Regions from separate parts of the Homo sapiens genome. Here region 1 is linked to region 2. Evidence: promoter capture Hi-C in human tissues and cell types (Jung and others, 2019). All regions are on one chromosome and are shown on one strand. The core of a region is centred on a gene start or on the middle of the fragment in contact, and the rest is flanking DNA. Distances in the headings are between cores, read along the strand shown.

Region 1 (2,700 bases), core at 163-2,662, 140 kb after region 2:
ACTTGTTTTCATTTCTCCTCTGGGAAAATGGAGAACAGATTATCTGTTTTGTTGGATGGGGCAGGAAGGGCTGGCTGGTGGTTAGAATTCTGTCCTCTTAGGAAACATCCAAATGAAAGATGGGTGGGAGAGGAAGCCAAAAACAATGAAAGAATCCTGGAGGGTTGTGATGGGAGAGGCTAAGAAGTGGGCCATGGGACTGCTGGAGAAGGCAGGAAGAGGCACACAGAGCCTGGACAGCAAAGGGCCCTTGGAGCAGAGTAGGGCAGACAGGAGGGAGTGCTACAAGCTTCATCTAGGAGACTGGGGTCTTCATCCCAAATCTGGGGACTGAAGGGACCAGGGCTGCAGGGCTCATCTGCCCACCAGAGAGCACAAGCAGCAGGCAGGTAGAGTCTTGAAGCCTCTGAGAAAAGCTGATGGTCATCAAAGGGGTGAGATTTTGCCCCAAGAGGCTTCCCTATCCCAAGCTTTCCTGACTCCAGGGAAGTTTCCCAGGACCCAGTGACTTCCTTGGCCGTGGATGAGCAGGGAGACTGGTCCCTTTGACTCTCTGACTCAAACCTGAATCAGGAGGGCAGGACTGGAACCAGGTGTAAAGTGTTTAGATCCTGAGCCTCTAGTATGATGGTTATAATGGATAAAGCAGAGTTTGCCATTTCCTGAGCATTCACTAAGTGCCACATTCAGAGCTAGGTGTTTTTCACCTGTTAAGCCTTCCCAACCTATGAGGCACTGCTATGGTTTGTATATGTGCCCCAAAAGGTATGTGTTGTAAACTTAATTCCCAATGCAATAATGTTTAGTGGTGGGGTCTAATGAGAGGTGATTAGGCCATAAGGGCTCTGCCCTCATGAATGGATTAATGTCATTATCATAGGAGCGGGTTTGTTATCTTGGGAGTGGGTTCCTTATAAAAGGACAAGTTTGGCCCCCTTTTACGCTCCACCCACTTCCCCATGTGCACATGCCTTCTCTGCTTCCACCATGGGATGATACAGCAAGAAGGCCCTTATTAGATGCTGACACCTTGATCTTGGACTCCACAGCCTCCAGAATCATGAACCAATAAATACTTCTTCATTTTAAGTTACCCAGTCTCAAGAATTCTGTTACAGCAGCACAGAATGAACTAAGGCAGGTGCCTCCCCTTGTCCTCATTTACAGGTAAGCAACTCAAGGTTTGCAGGATCAGGATATTGCTCCAGGTGAGTTGGCAAGTGGTAAGCCAGGATTTGAACTCAGCCTGTTTTGCCTTACCTTGCTCTTAGCAGGCAGTCCCTGAGCCTGTAGTCTTGCTCTAAAGGAAAGTCAAGGCCTGGAAAAGATTAGTCTCTGACAGCAGCTCCAGGCTGAACTCTGATCGCATTCATAGACTGAGTCGTGACTCTGTCCATGCAGTGGCTCCTGACCCTGGGCACACACTGAGCCCTGACTCTGGTCATAGACCAAGCCCCAACCCTGATCGTACACTGAGCCTTGACCCTGGCCTCACACTGAGCCCCGATGGAAGTCTACATTCAGAATAAAGGCCAGCACCAATATTTGTTGAATAGATAGTTGCTGTTGGGCTCCTGAGAGATATGCACAGATCATGACCTCCTCAGTAAGGATTTGGGAAGTTTATGCCACATGAGACGCTGATGAGGGAACACTTGAAGTTTATTGGAGATCTCAGGGTCCAGATGTGTCTTTTCCAGTGGTCACTCTCTGAGTCTTGGAAGATAGGCCTTCAGAGACACACCTGGCAGGCATCCAGCAGCTAGGACAGCTAGAGTGAGGCAGCTCTGCCTGTAGTCTAAGGCTTCTGGGAAGGCCATGGCTGGCACTACATTGGCCTAGGCAAGGACAGCCATGTCTGCCCAACCAGTTCACCAGTCCTGCTACCTGAAGCCTAGGCCACTTGATCAGGGGAGAGAAGGAGCTGTCACAGGGACCCTTCCTCAGGAGCTCTGGGCAAGACTAGCAAGAGAGGTACCCTCCTGCGTGACACCCCCAGGAAGAGACCTATTGCCCTCTAGGCAAAGTCAGGTGCATTTTCCAGACTTTGTGCTAGCATCCCACAGCAGGATCTAAAGAGGGAAAGCAGCCATCCGCAGTCCTTCCACACCTCTTTAAGAAGCCGTCTTGGCATCTCCAGTCCTCTTAGAGCTCTCCATCCTCCTCCCACCTGGCATCAAGGGCCCAAGGCTTCTCCTTTTACAAGGTCATATTCTGTTTTCACAACCATGCAGTCCCACATGTTGGAGTAACTGATGGAATGAATGAATGAATCAACACGTTCGTTAGGGGTTAGCTGGCTTGTTGTGTCGATAAAGTCTCTGTCAACGTCACAGATCCTCCAGAATGGCATTTCCACCCCTCCCCAGTAGCTTGGCCTCAATTCCTCTGTCCCTTCACTGCAGACATCTTGCTCATCCAGCTGTGGTGCATGGGGTTGTTAAACGGCTGGGGGATCCTGAGCAAGTCACTTCCCTCTCTGTGTAGTTCCCTCATAGCAACTTAGGATAGCAATAGTGCCAAGCTCCAAGGTCTACTGCAAAGGTTAAATGTGGTGGTGCATGTAAAGCAGTTTATAAATGAGTGGCGTTCAGCAAAGCACCTACTGCCGTGCCTGGCACCTAGCAGGTGTCAATGCAGCAGAGTCCCAGTTTCCACTCTCTGCCTGCCACCTTCTCTATACTCCAATTGGCAAGAGGT
Region 2 (2,700 bases), core at 1-2,500:
ACCAGCCCAGGCGTGGGTCTCCGCCATGGGCCTGCGCCGCCTCGGGACCGGGGTCAGGGTAGGCCTGCTCGAAGCCGGGGGTGCCCTCGCTGTACAGACTGTGCGAGTAGCGGCGGTCCAGGCCGTCGGGGGGCGGCGGCGGCGGCGGCACGTAGGGCCTCTCGGGGGCCGGGTAGAAGCCCTGAGGCGGGTACTCGGGCAGCTCTTCGCCGCCGCCGTACTCCTCGTAGCGCGCCCGGGGCTGGTAGGGGTAGATGACCCCCGCCGAGGCCACGGCCGCCGCCCCCGCGCCCACGCCGCCGCCCGCGGGCCGGTAGTACACGAAACCCTGGTCGTAGGTCCGCGACGCGGGGTCGTAGTTCTCGTACTGGCTGACGAAGGGCGCCTGCGGGTAGGGGAACTGCTGCGGGTAGGAGGGCTGCTGGCGGTAGGTGCTGGCGAAGGCCGAAGCCGAGACCGAGGAGGCGGAGCCCCCGTGCCGTTGCTGGGAGACGGAGGTGCGGGCCCGGGCCATGCCCGTGCTGTCCCCGACGGCCACCTCGCGCCAGTTGTCGGGCACCTGGCCAAAGCCGAATGGGTGCCGCGCCTGGCCGCGCACGGTGTCCGAGCCCACGCGCCCCGGCAGGGGCAGGGACGGCGCCTGCCGACGCCGGGGGCTCCCGTGGCTGCGCCGCTGCTGGGCCTGGGGCGCGCCGGCCAGCAGCACCCGGGAGCTACTCTCGGAGCGCTGAGGTCCGGCCGGCACGTACTCTGAGCCCGAGTTGAGCAAGCTGTACACCTGCCCGTTGTTCTCCCACTGGATCAGCTGCCGCCAGCGGGCGGGGTCCGAGCCCTGCCCGGGCTGCGCCTGCTGCCCGTGCACCAGCACGCACAGGCAGGCGCCCCACACCAGGGCCCCCAGCTGCCGGCTGCCTCGGGCCAGAGCCATGGTGACCCCTCTGCAGAGGCCTGGTGGACAGAGAGGCTCTCAGGAGTGGCCCCCTGGGCGTGCTTCTCTTCCCACGGCCTCGAGGACAGGAAGGCTCCTTGCTTGCCCCAGCTCTAGCTTTGTCCATGCTGGCCTTGTCCCGAGCGGGACGGCTCCTCCGATGACAGCATTTCAAGGCCAAGGGGTCAGGGCAGGGCAGGGGCGGTGCCCAGGGCTGCACGAGGCTCTCCGCAGGGCACCGGGCGGGCAGGACCGCCTGTGGGCCTTACATGGCCAGCCCCGCACTGGCTGGCCGCTCGGCTGGCGCTTTCCCACTCTGAATGAATAAGCAACAGGCTGGGAGCGTCGGGAGGCTTCGGCCTCCTGGTCCGCCTGCTGGGGCCTCCTCCGCGGGGCCCTATGGCCCGCCGGCTTTTAGCTATGCGCCGGTCCCACAGCTGCAGTGCTCCCTCAGTCCCTGGAGTTCCCAGCCAAGCCACAGACCTGCCTCTGAGGAAGGGAATCGAGCAGGGAGTAGGAGGGGACCTCTGGGGACTCGGGCCTGGTAAGTGGGGCTCTGGCAGGCAGAACGGGGCTGGGGTGTCAGCACCACCCCGCCCATTCCTCTCTGCTTTGGTCACAGCATCCCTGGTCTCCACCTTGCTCACTGGCTTCTCGTTTGGGCTGGAATGGGCCTCTGACTCCTGTCTGCCCCAGCCTCCTTCCCGTACTCCCGGGTTCTCCCTTTTCCTTGTTCCCTAAAGCCAGTGCTAATTAAGACACACCCTCTTTGCATGTTCCTTCCACCATTATCCCACACCCTCAATAGGAAGAAAAAAAAAAAAAAGACACACCCTCTTTGTTGGTGGGCCTCCTCGGGGAGATGCTGAACAGGGACCACTCTCTAATTCCAGGTCCCAGGTGCACCGCAGCTCTTGGGCCTGCGAAGAGAGGCACTGGAGCTGCACCTTTTCCCTCGTGGCACACCTCAGGGGCTTACTTTCCCAGTCTGAAGAGTGGGGTGTATCCCTGAGCTGAAAAGCACTTGTGAGATCCTGGGAGAGATCAACTTCCCAGACATCACGTATGGTTTCTGTCCTACATCTCTTGGCTCTGCATAGCCTGGGAATAACTTGAGTGTACACATGGATAAAATGAAACTGGGGGCTGTCTTTGATATGGGACAGGGGTCACTGTGAGGCAGAGAAGCCAGTAAGCATTGAACAACAGAAGGGGGTTCCGGAGACCTGGCCTGGTCCTGTTGCTGTGTGGCTTAGTCCCTTACTCTATCTGATCCAGGTGCCACGGCTTACCAATGGAAGATTAGGCCAGATGGCTCCTGAGAGTGCTTTGGGAGATTCTCTGTTCCTTCTGGGAATGGCAGGGATAGGAGGGGGTCCCAGAAGTTTGAACGCTTTGGCATCCAAGAAATCACACTCCAAATACTGCTCTTCTGGCCTCCCCTGGGCTGCCTTCTCCAACCGTGTTCCTGGGAACCGAAGGGCAGAAATTGCCCTCTTGGGCTTATAAACAAGGTATGAAGGACCTGTCCTTAATTTGGCTCCTGTATATTCTTTATTTTGGAAATGCCTGGAGCCCACCTAGAGAGGAGGCAACTAGAGTGGACATTCTTTGGGAACTATAGACCTCCCAACCCCATCCTTGCCAGGCAGCATTTGTTCACCCATTGCACTGTTCTTCAGGACTGAGGCTTGGACTCCAGCATGTCTCTACCCTTTAAATGCCCAGAATCCAGCCCAGAGGTAGGGGGCTTCCAATACCTCCTGGCCAGC

What was found. The method cuts DNA at HindIII sites, captures the fragments that hold promoters and counts their contacts. A contact is called where the count stands out against the background at its distance.
Region 1: a contact is called between a fragment that was not itself captured here and the fragment with the promoter of LOXL1 in region 2, in 1 of the 25 tissues and cell types used here (H1 embryonic stem cells).

What each region holds. Positions count from the first base shown.
Region 1 is chr15:73,788,759-73,791,458 of GRCh38, reverse strand. No RefSeq gene overlaps it. Among named protein-coding and RNA genes, the nearest start is that of INSYN1-AS1, 22 kb to the right of the region's middle. The HindIII fragment of the contact is 3,541 bases long and covers 1-2,700 here.
Region 2 is chr15:73,925,012-73,927,711 of GRCh38, reverse strand. It overlaps LOXL1 (lysyl oxidase like 1), which reads right to left and starts at 1,250. Exons shown (of 7, transcript NM_005576.4): 1 at 1-1,250. The coding sequence starts at 928. All of the region lies in intron 1 of LOXL1-AS1 (LOXL1 antisense RNA 1), which reads left to right. RefSeq lists a silencer at 1-2 and an enhancer at 1-744. The HindIII fragment of the contact is 8,654 bases long and covers 1-2,700 here.